5 separate regions of the Homo sapiens genome follow, and all the other regions are linked to region 3. The links are contacts of gene promoters, found by promoter capture Hi-C in blood cells and fetal thymus (Javierre and others, 2016). All regions are on one chromosome and are shown on one strand. The core of a region is centred on a gene start or on the middle of the fragment in contact, and the rest is flanking DNA. Distances in the headings are between cores, read along the strand shown. Region 1 overlaps ATP2B3 (ATPase plasma membrane Ca2+ transporting 3). Region 2 has its middle 13 kb from the start of DUSP9. Region 3 holds the start of PNMA3 (PNMA family member 3). Region 4 has its middle 16 kb from the start of DUSP9. Region 5 overlaps BCAP31 (B cell receptor associated protein 31).

What was found. Contacts are between HindIII fragments. The CHiCAGO score rates a contact against its expected background, and 5 or more counts as called.
Region 1: a contact is called between a fragment that was not itself captured here and the fragment with the promoter of PNMA3 in region 3, in 5 of 17 cell types (total B cells, naive CD8 T cells, M1 macrophages and 2 more). The highest score is 8.5, in total B cells.
Region 2: a fragment that was not itself captured here is called in contact with the fragment with the promoter of PNMA3 in region 3 in 11 of 17 cell types (total B cells, naive B cells, M2 macrophages and 8 more); the score reaches 10.4 in total B cells.
Region 4: a contact is called between a fragment that was not itself captured here and the fragment with the promoter of PNMA3 in region 3, in 11 of 17 cell types (naive B cells, naive CD8 T cells, M1 macrophages and 8 more). The highest score is 9.3, in naive B cells.
Region 5: a fragment that was not itself captured here is called in contact with the fragment with the promoter of PNMA3 in region 3 in 1 of 17 cell types (activated CD4 T cells); the score reaches 5.6 in activated CD4 T cells.

What each region holds. Positions count from the first base shown.
Region 1 is chrX:153,571,254-153,573,953 of GRCh38, reverse strand. All of the region lies in intron 21 of ATP2B3 (ATPase plasma membrane Ca2+ transporting 3), which reads right to left. Among named protein-coding and RNA genes, the nearest start is that of CCNQ, 27 kb to the left of the region's middle. The HindIII fragment of the contact is 8,767 bases long and covers 1-2,700 here.
Region 2 is chrX:153,658,494-153,661,193 of GRCh38, reverse strand. No RefSeq gene overlaps it. Among named protein-coding and RNA genes, the nearest start is that of DUSP9, 13 kb to the right of the region's middle. The HindIII fragment of the contact is 4,415 bases long and covers 1-2,700 here.
Region 3 is chrX:153,055,020-153,057,719 of GRCh38, reverse strand. It overlaps PNMA3 (PNMA family member 3), which reads right to left and starts at 1,250. Exons shown (of 2, transcript NM_013364.6): 1 at 1,082-1,250; 2 at 1-770. The coding sequence starts at 664. The HindIII fragment of the contact is 3,087 bases long and covers 1-2,700 here.
Region 4 is chrX:153,630,330-153,633,029 of GRCh38, reverse strand. No RefSeq gene overlaps it. Among named protein-coding and RNA genes, the nearest start is that of DUSP9, 16 kb to the left of the region's middle. The HindIII fragment of the contact is 255 bases long and covers 1,135-1,389 here.
Region 5 is chrX:153,713,740-153,716,439 of GRCh38, reverse strand. BCAP31 (B cell receptor associated protein 31) reads left to right here. Exons shown (of 8, transcript NM_001256447.2): 4 at 751-898. Among named protein-coding and RNA genes, the nearest start is that of BCAP31, 9.3 kb to the left of the region's middle. The HindIII fragment of the contact is 1,152 bases long and covers 845-1,996 here.

The DNA of each region.
Region 1 (2,700 bases), core at 50-2,549, 520 kb before region 3:
TGGCTGTGTGTGTGTTGGCAAGCCAGAACTGCTTGCAGCTGGCAAGTTTCATGAAAATTGCCTCCCACCTTGTGTGCACACTCATGCCCAGGACCGTGTGAGCCTAGACCTGTGCTCCCAACACCAGCAAGCTGAACTGACCTGGGCGCGGCGAGTCAGTGTCGGGTGGTCGGACTAAAGAGGACCCAGGAGGAAGGCCCAGCTGAGCCCTTGCCTCCGTACTGGCTGAATCCAGCTGCGGGACCTCCAATTAGTCTTGAGAGGTCTCTGCCCAGGTTCCCAGCTTGGGAGTCCACACTCGGAGTGCCTGATGGGGAGGGCCTTGGACCAGGGGTCCTGGGGTCTGCCCTAGGCTGCGTTCTGGTGCCTACTTTAGGGTTTGCCTGGAAGGGCATTCCCCTGTGGTAGGGCCCAGGGTTCCAGGAAAGCCTAGGGCAGGGCTCTTGGGGGAGGGTTGCTACTGCTTCCAGCATGGAGGCAGGGTGCAGACTGTCAAAGATCTGAGAAAAAATGCCAATACACCGTTCCCAGAAACCAGGTAGGGAGGCTTGGCTCAAAGCACATGACCTTCCTGAGAATGGAGCAAACTCCAGAAAACAAGACTCCTTCCACCACGGGGCTGGGAGTGTGGTGAGCATGTCGCCCTGGGCCCTGGAAAGGAGTGTCCAGGGAAAGCCTGGGACTCACGTGGCCCGGTTTGGCCCCTTTGGCCACACGGTTTTCATGTTGCCAAAGCCAATAAAACCAAGCAACTGCTGTGATCTGTTTCCAGCATGATTAACTGGAACTAAACGGCCCGGAGGGACCCCCGGTGGCCACATGGGACCAGACTCATGGCCTGCTGCCTAACCCCTGCTCCTTTGCTGGGCCAGGTCAGGAGGCATCTCAGGAACGACTCCAACAGTAAGCATCTCACACAGGCCTGGTGTGGCGCTGCTGGAAGGATAGACTTTGGATGCGTGGCTGGGGTTTGTCTGTGTGTCCCAGTGGAAAACAGACATAAAAGGCCTCTCAAGTGGCTTTGATGGGGCTTTCCAAATGATCGCGCACCCTCCCGTGCCTCCTAGTGGCAGACGCGCAGCCCCCTGTGCCTGCTGCCCTTGGTAGACCCGAGTGACTGAACCAGCTGTCCCTGACCAGCTCTCCGGAATATGGACACCCAACAGGGAGGGTGATACTGTGGCCTCGGTGTGTGAGTGTGTGGTTGGGGCATGGTGTGGGGTAGTCACCAGGCTGGGCAGGGGAGGGGCAGTGGAGGCTGCCTGGAGCTGGGGGTCAGAAGTTGTGGCCGGCACAGTCTGACAATGCATGCAGAGGAGGGATATGGGGCCTGTGTTGGGACTCCTGAGTCCAGAAGCAGCAAAGGTGTGGGAGGTTAGACAGGGTGGGGAGGGCTCGAGTGTGTGAGCACTGAGCCCCAGCGATCCCAAATCTCTCGACCCCTCCTAGCCACCCCCTTGCTACTTCCTGCATTGGCCCCAGGGGCACAGGGTGAGGGGATGTCATGCTACCAACCACCGGCCCTTCTCTCTGGAGGACCTGAGGTCCTTAGTAGGAAAGGCTTGGGACGGAGGCAGCTCCAGTGCCCAGAAAGGCCCCAGACTCCTGGTGGGCTGAAAGGCAGCCTGGCCTGGAGCAGGCAAAGAGGATGGGAAACTGTGGGCTTGCCTTAGGAAACCACGTGACTCGACGCCCCTGCAGGCCTAGTTGGGGCAGCCCTCTTGTCTAGGGGAGCTCCGTCACAGCCTTCAGAGCATCTCTCATCCACCAGAAAGTTCCAAGTAGAGGGTGGGCGCTGGTGCTAGTCCCCACTCTGCCAGGCCTGGCTGCTTATGGGACCCAGTGCAGGTCCTGGCCCTTGGGGACAACCTCCTTCCCCTGATCTCTAGGATGAGAGTGCTGGGCTTGGTGATTGCTTGGGGTCCTTGAAGCGTGGAGTGGGGGTTGGGTTCTGAGTTCTAAACCAATCCGCTGCACTGTGATGATGGCAGGAGGTGGTTCTGGCAGGTGGCTTCCAGAAGTGGGCATGTCCTTGGTGTTGCCAGGTCCCCAGCCAGCATCTTCCTCCACGGCAGAGTCCTTTCTGGGATGCTGATGTTCAGCTGGGATGGGCCTCTTCAGAGGGCCCTGCCACCCACCTTCTGCTGGAGCACACAGTGTGCAAGGGACAGCTGCCCTCCTTCTGGCTATCCGCCACTTAGGGCCCCCATGGAATAGCTTGTGAACAGCAGGAGGGGTGGCGTCTCTCCCACTCTACTTACCCCGCACTGCCAGGCTCCGGAGGTGGGGAGGAGGGGGACAGATGGCCACGGAATGAAGGCAGGAAGGAAGTGCTAGGAGCCAAGGAAGAGAGGAGCAAGAGGCTGCCCCAGGGAGGAAGCAGGAGGAATCCAGAGGGAGAAAAGACAGCAGGCCCCACAGAGGCTGGGCTGGACCTGGAGAGGGACAAGGAGCTGGTCCTGGGGTGGGATGAGGCCAGAGCTGTGGAGAAGGCTCGAGGAACGCGTGGAGTGGGGCCGTGGTGGCTGCCTTCCCCTTAACTCAACAAATGGGCAAATGGACAGACAGACAGGAAGCACAGAGAGAGATGGCAAAGAGACATACGGAGGAAGTCAAGGGGGAGGGAGGCGGAGGCACAGCCATGCCCCCTGCTGCCCTCAGCTCCCAGGAAGGAAGGTGCTGGGAGGCCACGAACCATTT
Region 2 (2,700 bases), core at 157-2,656, 600 kb before region 3:
ACTGCTTTAGCTGCATTCCATAAATTTTGATATGTTTTGTTTTCATTTTCATTCTCATTTCATTCTTTCTAATTTCCTTTGTTTTTTATTTGACGTGCCAGTTATTTAGAAGAGTGTTGTATAATTTCCAAGTATTTTGGACTTCCTAGGTTTCTATCTTTTTAGATTTATAATTTAATTCTGTTGCAGTCAGAGAAATATTTTATATTATTTAAATTATTTAAATTCCTTTAAATATATTGAGACTTGTTTTATGGTCTATCCTGGAGAATGTTTCATGTGCACTTGAAAAAAATGTGTATTTGGCAATTGTTGAATGGTGTGTTCTATAGGTATCAGTTAGGTCAAATTTGTTGATAGTGTTGTTCAGATTTTATATATCCTTGCTGATCTTCTGTCTAGTTCCATCAACTATTGAAAATAGAGCATTGAAATGTCCATCTGTTATATTTGAATTTTCTTTTGTATTTTTAGTAGAGACAGGGTTTCCCCATGTCGGCCAGGCTGGTCTTGAACTCCTGACCTCAAGTGATCTGCCCGCCTCGGCCTCGCAAAGTGCTGGGATTACAGGCGTGAGCCACCGTGCTGGCCAATTTTCCTCTGTTGATTTTTAATTACATTGAAGCAGAAATTTAGACATAAACATGCTTCATTCACTCCAAGTTTGAGTTATTTTCTTAGGGTTTTCTCTAGCTATTACATTATGAGTCTTAACTAATCACAATCCACCTCAGATGAATACTCACTTAATTTTGGTGAAATATGGAGACTTTGCCTCAGTATGGCTACATTCTTTCCCACTTCTTTTGTGCTAGTAATGCCATGTTTATTACATCTATATAGGTTATAAGCCCTGAAATACAGTGTAATACCTATTTTTTAATGCAATCTTATGTTTTTAAAAGAGAAGAAATGAATAAAAATATGTTGAGAGGCTTTTATATTAGCTCACTTATTAACCATTTTTTCTGCTCTCCATTTCTTACTTTGAATTCCAGTTACTAACTGGTGTCATTTCCTTTCAGCCTGAAGGACTTCCTTGAGTATTTCTTGTAAGGAGGCAGGCTAGCAATGAACTATGTTAGCCTTTGTTTATCTGGGAATGTCTTTTTTTAAACCTTCAATTTTTTTTTTTTTTTTTTTTTTTTTTTTGAGATGGAGCCTCTCTCTGTCACCCAGGCTGGAGTGCAGTGATGTGATCTCGGCTCACTGCAACCTCTGCCTCCCAGGTTCAAGCGATTCTCATGCCTCAGCCTCCCAAGTAGCTGGGATTACAGGTGCATGCCACCATGTCTGGCTAATTATTGTATTTTTAGTAGAGACGGGGTTTCACCATGTTGGTCAGGTTGGTCTCGAACTCCTGACCTCAGGTGATCCGCCTGCCTTGGCCTCCCAAAGTGTTGAGATTACAGGCGTGAGCCACCGCACCCAGCTATGCACCCAGCTTCAATTTTTAAAGCATAGTTTTGCTAGATATAAAATTTGGGGGCTGGGTGCAGTGGTTCACACCTGTAATCTGAGCACTTTGGGAGGCTGAGGCAGGCAGATCATTTGAGCCCAGGAGGTTGAGGCTGCGATGAGCTGAGATCACACCACTGCACTCCAGCCTGGGTGACAGACTGAGACTCTGTCTCAAAACAAATTTTTTTTGGTTGATAGTATTTTTTTCTTTCAGTGCTTTCAGTTTGTTGTTCCACTCCCTTGTGGCCTCCATTGTTTCTGATGAGAAGTCAGATGTTAATTTTATTGTGGTTCCCTTCTATATGGGTCATTTATTTCTTCTGCTATAATACTTTCAAAATTGTCTGTCTTTGGCTTTCGATAATTTACCATGAAATGTCTATGAGTGGCTCTCTTTGTGTTTATCTCACTTGGGGTTATTCGAACTTCTTGGATCTGATGAATGCTTTTCACCAAATGCTGGTGTTTAGCCATTATTTATTCAAATATTTATTCTGCCCCTTTCTCTTTCTCCTCTTCCTCAGAGCCTCCAATTACACATATCAAAATATGTGTTCAGTTTTAAGTCTGTTCTGGTTTTACTTCTTCTTAGGAGACACTGATGACTTGCAGGCTCCTTACATGCTGGACCAGAAACTGAAATTCCTCTCTGTCACCCAGGCTGGAGTGCACTGGTGTGATCACGGCTCACTGCAACCTCCACCTCCTGAGCTCAAGCAATCCTCCTGCTGCAGCCTTCTGAGTAGCTGGGACTATAGGTGTGCACCACCACGCCTGGCTAATTTTTTGTATTTTTTTGTAGAGATGGGGTTGTGCCATACTTCCCAGAGTGGTCTTGAAGTCCTGGGCTCAAGCAATCCATATGGGCCACATTTTTATGTCTCTTCTATCTGAGTCAGAAAGCCGGGATGTAGAGCTCTCCTAGTCTGTCTCCTTTCTCTCAGGGACCACAGTCCTTCACTGATTGCTGTCCCCCATCTGAAAACAATGGATTTTCATATATTTTGCCCAATTTCTAGCTGTTTATGGTGAGACAGTAATTCTGGACCCTCTTATTCCCTCATGGCCGTATTGATATTGAGAGACTTTATGTTTTGTTAAGACAAATATACATGTTAAATTTTTTAGAGTAACTAGAATATAAATAGGATGTACTACTTCCAAACTAGTAGAAGAAAATAGCAAATAATGAAGGAAAATTCAGCTAATCACAAAAAGGTCAAGTAAGGGAAATAAAGA
Region 3 (2,700 bases), core at 1-2,500:
CCCGGAGCCCACTGACCACCTGGAGAGCAGGGCCCCGTAAGCATTCCATCAGCCTCCGCCTCTTTTCCCCCTCGGGCACCTGCCACATCTGTAGCATCTCAGTGGTGTGCTCAAGCCAGGCATCAAAGGCCAGTGCACCTGGGATGGATATGGTGTTCCCAGAAAACACTCTTAGTTCTCGGTACAACATTTGTTCTAGCAGAGGCTGCACTGCTGCCCCCAGAGTCTGGGCCCAGGTCCAGAACTCTGGTGATATAGTCACTCTTGGAGCCGAACAATTGGTGTCCGACCCGAGGACTCGGTTCATATCTGACACGGTCCGCCTCTCCTCCTCTAAGAAGCGGTTCAGTCTGTTGAGAAATTCCCCATCTGAGTTACGGGGTTTTACAATCACTTCCCAGGGCCCCCCCTTTCCTGGTATTTCCCTTGGGAGCAAAGCATAGTCGATATCTTGTGCCAGCTCCAGTAGAATCGCCTGGGCGTTCTCCTCCCTCCTAAACATCCTGCCAATCACCCTGTATCTGCCCAGGTGCCTGCAAGCCTCCTGGAGTGTCTCCTCAAACTCATCCTCGCCACAGTCCTCGGGGATCCCCAGGATGAGCATGCACCTCCGGGTGTTCAGGTGTTCCCCCCGACACCAGTCCTGTAACAAGGTCAACGGCATGTCCTCGAATCTCTGCGGATACTAATTTGGGGGGAGTGATCAGGGCGTGAGGCACATATCTGGATCAACTCCTAGGGTGATCGCAGAAGGCCCAGGTCTCCACAGCCTGTGAATGCGAGCAGGGCGAGAGCGAGGTTAATGCCCACCTCTCCGCACGCCCACATCCACGCCCACCCCCACCCCCACCCCCAGCCGCCCTCCTCCCCGGGCGGCGCCTCTGCAGCCAGGCCCCGCCCCTGCCCAGCCCCCCACCCCCACCCCCCGTGGGGTCTCTGCGGGCCTCAGCCCCCTCCCCGCGCTGCCCCAGGACCCTGGACCCCTGCCCTGCAGGCTGCTTCAGTTCTGATAGGGCGGACAGGCGAGGGGCGGCGGAGTCTCCCGGGGCCCAGCGTCTCCCTCCCCAGGTGGGTCTGTTACCTTCTCCCAGGGCAAGGTCCCTTCTGGTCGGGGTCCCCAGAGGGCTCTCCGGGGGCTATGCGCGGCGGCGGCGGCGGCGGCGGACGGGGGTCGGGCACCCCTGGCTCCCAGCGCGGACGTTCGCTCAGACTGTGGCTCTCCCTCGCTCGCGCAGCACGTGGGCCAGTGCGCCGGCGCCTGCTCGCCGCGGCTCTCTGCAGTGCGGACACGGGGCGGGGGCGCGGCGGCGGTGCAGCGCGGACCCCTCCGCGTCGTCCGGGAGACCGCAGGGCCATTGGCGCGGACGGGTCACGAGGTCGGGCTCTCGCCGCCGCCCCTGGGGGCCCCAGGTCCCCGGGTGACGTCACCTGCTCCTCTCCCCTAGCCCCCCCGCCACGGGGGCCCCCGGGCCCCCGGGCACACAAGCGCCCGCCCACCCCCATCCCCACTGCGGTGGCCAAAGGTCTGTGGCGGCCAGTCCCCGTGCCTTTGGCTCTCACCACAGCGGTTCCTGGTCCCGGCTCCTGCCCCTCCCGCACGTGCCACGGAGGTGCCAGCGGGGCGAGGGGTCTGCACCCCGGCGTGCCCACCAGAGGGCCAGGGAGTGGTCTGAGGTGCGCCAGGCAGCTCTGCATTATGGCCAGGGTCAGGGAGCCGGGTTCTGGGGCCTGTTCACCTGCTCTTGTCCTCCCCCTCCCCGTCCAGGACTGGTCCTCTGGCTGGCGAGGCCAGGGGCACCTGGTGCGGGTGCCATTCCGTGCAGGAGATGCCCCAGGCACTCATGCAGGTCACGCACACCACCCCAAGGAGGGTCAGCCATCTCCCCGCTGTCCATCCCGCTGCTGGGACCTGAGGCCCTCCGGCCAAAGCGCTTCGCTGCCCAGGTGCCAGTGGACAGGTTTACCGGGACCTTTCCGGTTTTGTGCGCTGCAAATCTAGTGACTTGGGAAACCACTTCCAGGACTTGGAGCCCAATCCCTTGGGCCTGCCCTTCCTTGGCAGCCGTGCGCCGTGGGTTCTATTGTATCCGTTTGATCCCAGGGCAGCAGCCAAATGAAGAAGGGAGTGACTGTCCCTCAGGCAGTGGGCCCAGGTGTTCTGTGGGTCCTGCCTGCTCTGCCAGCCGCATGCTCAACTCCTATTCACACAGCTTCAGCTCCTCTCCAAACACAACGAAAAGGGGCTTGTGGTTGATTTTCAGGCCAGGTTCACCCATCCAGCCAAGTCTGGGAGGCCACCTTGCAGTGAGTGGGGCACAAAACTGTCCACTGACTTCCTGCCCCACCCTGAGTTCTGCTCGTCAGCCTGGCACTTGTCAGGGACCAAGAAGAAATGGCCCCAAGGGCTTTTTCCTGGTCAGACAGAATTCCTGAAACATCTTTACAGGAGTTATTTCATTTGCTCCTCACCAGAACTCTGAAGCAGGTATTAACATTATCCTGATTTGACTCATGAGGCTCAGAGAGATTAAGAGACATTTTCAAGGTCACACACCGTATTGAAGGTAGAATTGAGACTGGATTCTAAATTAGTGCCCATCAGTCTTTGGGTAGAATTGGGACTATTTCTCCCCTGGTTGCTTCATGCCTATTAGAATTTATTTCTCTCATTTTTGTCCATTCACAGTCCCTTGCTTTGTC
Region 4 (2,700 bases), core at 13-2,512, 580 kb before region 3:
CTCTCACCTGCCCACCTGTCCCCACTTCTGCTCCAGGGAGCCCGCTGGGTCCCTGTTGCTGCTGTCAGTCCCTTGTTTCTGCCATTCCCTTTCTCTAAATGCACCCTGACCTCTGTTGGAGGCCCCTCCGGCCTTCCCAGCCCAGCCCCGGCCTAGCCCTGCTCCCTTCTCCTGGCACCTGGGCACCCTTCATGGTTTCATGATGCTCCAGGTGGCTGTGCGCCGTCTCAGAGAGCACAGAGTGTGGCTGCCAGGGCCAGGCTGGCCACAGGCCTCCCAGTCTCCCTCAGCTGGCCTGGCCTGAGGCGGGCTGGCCACCCCCCAGGGGCTGGCTAGGCGTGCGCTAGAGGAATAAGGGGGGACAGGGGCAGGAGGAGGGCCAGCTGCCATGTCATCACAATGGTGGTCCCTGGGACACCTCTCCCTGGAATTCTGTGACCAGTCAGCTGCAGGCCTTGGTTACTGAGGAAACCGAAGCCTCGTGTGAGCGCTCGTCATCTGGGAGGAGGGATTCAGGCAGAGTGCGCCTCCGTGAGGGACCAGGTGCTCGGGTGACTGCCCGAATCCTCCTGGGCAGGCTCAGAGATGTGCGCCGAGAGCCTGGCTGCTCCCAGGGCTGCAGAGGCCCTGGGTGAGATGGGGCTGGAAGCAGTGAGGAAGCTGGCCCTGTCCGGAGCCAGAGCAGCCACACTATGTCCACACATAGCTGTGCATATACCTTCACAAGGACGGGGACAGCAGAACGCCTCTCAGCCACGTAGGCCAACTGGCAAGGAGGCAGCCAAGGTTGAGCTATATATATATGTATATATATATCAAAGGATACAATAGAGACAAGGCTAACACTTTCTAGTACAGCCTTAGTATAGAGCTTGCTGTGGAGGCAGAGATCCACAAGCCAGAGAACACCAAAGATCAGCCACAACCCGACAGAAGCCAGGGGAGAGGCCTGGGACGGACCTTTCCCTCCAGCCTTCAGAGGGACCACAGCCCTGCCGACACCCTGATCTTGAACTTCTGGCCTCCAGAGCTGGGAGAGAATAAATGTGTGCTGTTTTCACACATCCCGTGTGCAGCATTTTTTGACAGCAGCTCTAGCAAATGAATGCAGTGCTTCGGGAGTTTCGGGAAGCTTTCTTAAGTGCTCTATCGTTTAACTCAAAAAGATCCCTGTGAAGTTGAGGGTCTTAGCATTTCACAGATGAGGAAATGAAGACTCTGAACATCTGAATGACTTGTTCTTGTTCAGACTAATTCAGCCAGCTGGAGGTAGACCCAGAGTTCAATTAAACTCTTCGATGTGAAGTCTGGATCCAGGAAAGTAAATGTAAGTGCTCTAACATCTTCCAGCTTCCCGATATATTCAGGGTTTAATGTTTTTTGAAAGCTTTGAGCTCTCCAGATATTGTTCAAGTCAACCCTCTCCCATGCACCAACCTGCCTCTGAGAAACTGATTCCTTTTTAGGGAGAGAAAAAATTGCCTTTCTTTTTGTGCTATAAATGTCCCCCAGGGCACTGCTTTAGCTGCATCCCACAAATTTTCCTGTTTTGTAGTTTTGTTTTTGACTATTTTGGTGTATTTAAAAAGTTTTTCCTTTAGACTTCCTCTTGGACCCATGGGCTATTTAGAAGCATGTTGTTTACTTTCCTGGTGTTTGGAGATTTTGCTGTGATTCATTTGGAATTTGATTCTATTGTGGTCAGTGAACACACTGTATGATTTTAGCTCTGTTAAATTCGTTGAGGTTTGCCTGGGATATCGTCTATATTGGGATGTGCCCCATGGGTATTCTGCTGTTGTTGGGCAGAGTGTTCTGTAAATGTCTATCAGATCCTGTTTATAGATGGTAATGTTGAGTTCTTTTATAATTTGCTGATTTTCTGTCTAGTTGTTTTGTCAATTTTTGAGAGAAGTGTGTTAAAATCTCCAACCATAATTGTGGATTTGTCTATTTCCCCTTCCAGTTTTATTAGAGTTGTTTGTTATTGAGACAGGATCTGGTTCTGTTGCCCAGGCTGGAGTGCAGTAGGATAATCACAGCTCACTGCAGTCTCAACCTCCCAGGCTCCGGTGATCCTCCCACTTCAGCCTCCCAAGTAGCTGGGACCACAGGCACACACCACCACACCCGGCTGATTTTTATATTTTTTTGTAGATATGGGGTTTTGCCATGTTGCCCAGGCTGGTCTTGAACTCATGAGCCAAAGCAATCTGCCGGCCTCAGTCTTCCAAAGTGCTGGGGTAACAGGCATGAGTCACTGCACCTAGCCCTCCAGTTTTATGAGTTTTTGCTTCACATATTTTGCAGTTCTGTGGTTTGGTGTATACGCATTTAAGATTGCTATGTTTTCTTGGTGGAATGACCCTTTATCATACACAGTTTTGTTGTTGAAATGAATTTTAAAGATTTTTATGCAGGTGATTTTTTTTTAACCAGTTACAGTTTTCATGATATTTGGCGCCTGGCAACAGAAGAGGGTCTCCGTGAAAAGAGACTCAACTCAGAGGAGGTAGTTTTGCTTTCTTTAGCTATTCCAGACCGAGACTGAGGAAGAGGAAGGACAGCCTGCACCTCCCTCTGCCCCTCACCATGGAAAAGGGACAAAGCTACCAGTGAACATTCTCATCCACTTGGAGATGCCGATATAACAGAAGCACAAATGGGGCTGGAGGTTTTGATAAGAAACTTGTAACTCCT
Region 5 (2,700 bases), core at 171-2,670, 660 kb before region 3:
ACCTTAGGTCCCCGGAGCAGGCATTTCCATCTCCAGGTTCAACTTATCATTGTGGGGGTTGGGGGGCTATGGGCCAACTTGAGATGAACAGAACAAGACGCGGTGAGGGTACCATGGGAAAAGGAAGCCACCCCCATTTCCAGAAACTCTTTAGGCTTGGTTAGCATCGTGAACTGCAGAGCAAGCCTGGGGCCTGTGTAGAATGGGGCCAGGGATTGAAAAGCTGGAGGAAGGAGTGGGTCTGAGGGTGGGAGCTTCCTTTTTTTTTTTTTTGAGATGGAGTTTCGCTCTTGTCCCCCGGTCTGGAGTGCAGTGGCTCAATTTCGGCTCACTGCAACCTCCGCCTCCCGGGTTCAAATGATTCTTTTGCCTCAGCCTCCCGAGTAGCTGGGATTACAGGCGCCCACCACCACGCCGGGCTAAATTTTTTTTTTTTGTATTTTTAGTAGAGATGGGGTTTTGCCATGTTGGCCAGGCTTGTCTCGAACTCCTGACCTCAGGTGATCTGCCCGCCTCTGCCTCCCAAAGTGCTGAGATTATAGGCGTGAGCCACTGCACCTGGCCTGAGGGTGGGAGCTTCTGATAACAGCATCCCATGAGGGGTGTATGTGCATAGAAGTGGGAAGAACTGGGGAGGCGGATTTGAGGGAAGTGAGTCTGACCTGTCTCATGCCGCCTGTCTGCCTGGTATGGCCTTATCTTGCCCTAGTGTCCGCTAAATGCCCGTGTCTCCTCTCTGCTCCACCACAGATGCCGTGCGCGAAATTCGGAAGTATGATGATGTGACGGAAAAGGTGAACCTCCAGAACAATCCCGGGGCCATGGAGCACTTCCACATGAAGCTTTTCCGTGCCCAGAGGAATCTCTACATTGCTGGCTTTTCCTTGCTGCTGTCCTTGTGAGTGGGGGGTTGAGGGGGCAGGTGCTGTGAAAGGAGCCATGGGCTAGCCATGGACACCGAGCTCAGTGGGCTCAGTCTCCCCCCTGTGACTTTGATTCCTCCTCAGTCTGTGGCCTGGATCCCAAAGCCCTGTCTGTGTTAGGGAAGCCACATAGTTTTCTCCTGACCTCCAGAGGCAGCGTGGAGAGTAGGAGAGGGCTGCCTGAAATATCAGAAGACCCTCACACACCACATACTCTCAGGCAAACAGATGACTATCTCACGGTCTGTTTGCATGGAGAGTGAGATGTAACGGTAAGGCCTTGCCCTCCTCTGGGAGAGGACCTTCAGAGTCCAGCTCACAAGGGAGCGACTGAATGGGGGACTCTTTGTGTCCGGGGTGTTGACCTAGGGACAGCAGGTAAAAGTGGCACGAAGAGGCTGGGCCTCTCCTCACCTCAGGGCCTTCCCCACGTGAAACTCGTAATGAGGACATGTTACATTCCATGGCAGCCAGAGTATTTCTGATGATTTTTTTGGTAAAACTAAGTACCTTAATCAAGGCTAAGGGTAACTAGTCGGGCAAAACTAGACCACTACGAAGTGCCTATTTGAGCCTGGGGCCCTGTTTGCTGCCTCCTGCTTCACATAGCCGTTCTGATCAGCAGGGCCTGGCTGGGAGGTGGATGGGAGCTCAGACCATGTATGAAGGCATTGGAAAGGCGCTTGCTTTGAGGGTGGAGCTCTCATCACTTAATCACTTCTCAAAAGACCCCACCTCTTAATGCTACGGCAGTGAGGATTAAATTCCAACACATGAAGTTTGAAGGGCACTCAGACCATAGCACCAAGTGATTCTCAGGCTCATGGACAGTTATTCCCCACTTGGTTTTGTGCCCCGAGACTCAAGAATCTCCATGCCTAGGAGATTCTTGCTCTCTAGTCACCTGGTGTGTCCTGCTTTACTAGGCGCTACGATGACTACTTGTCTTAAAATCTGTTGTTTAGATGATCTGGTACTCTCTGCGACCAAGTTGGAAAGAGGGGTGGAGCTAGAAAAGGCAAACACATTTTTTTCAAGATAATGGGTTTGATCACAGATTTGATCTACAAGCTTGCTGTCTTCAAACTTAGGAAAGTCAGGAAGGCTGGGAGGAGTCAGACACATACCCTAAATTTTTCAGGAAGTTCCAAACAAGTATTATCTTGTGGTCTGAGGCTGAAAGGGAAGCAGATCTGAAAGACTGAGTCTCAAACCCAGAATTCTGAGTGTGACAGTCAGCAAAATGAGGAAAAAAGACCACATTGAGAGGGAAAGAGAGGAAACTAGGCCATCTACCAGAAAAGCATCTAGAGCTTTAAGAATGGTATGGGGGAGGGGTGGGCTGGGTGCGGTGACTTAGGCCTGTAATCCCAGCACTTTGGGAGGCCGAGGCAGGTGGATCACCTGAGGTCAGGAGTTCGAGACCAGCCTGGCCAACATGGTGACACCCAGTCTCTACTAACAATACAAAAAAATTAGCTGGGCTTGGTGGTAGGTGCCTGTAGTGCCAGCTACTCGGGAGGCTGAGGCAGGAGAATTGCTTGAACCCGGGAGGCAGAGGTTGCAGTGAGCCGAGATCACACCACTGCACTCCAGCCTGGGTGACATCTCAAAAAAAAAAAAAAAAAAAAAAAAGAATAGTATCGGGAAGGTGAAAACCTGCCGGGAGCTCTGAATCATGAAAGACATGGAGAAGTGAGGAGAAGGCAGTCCCTTTTATATGTCTGTGTAAGGAAGGAGATGGAGGGTAGGTGGTCAAGGGCAAAGGAAACACTAG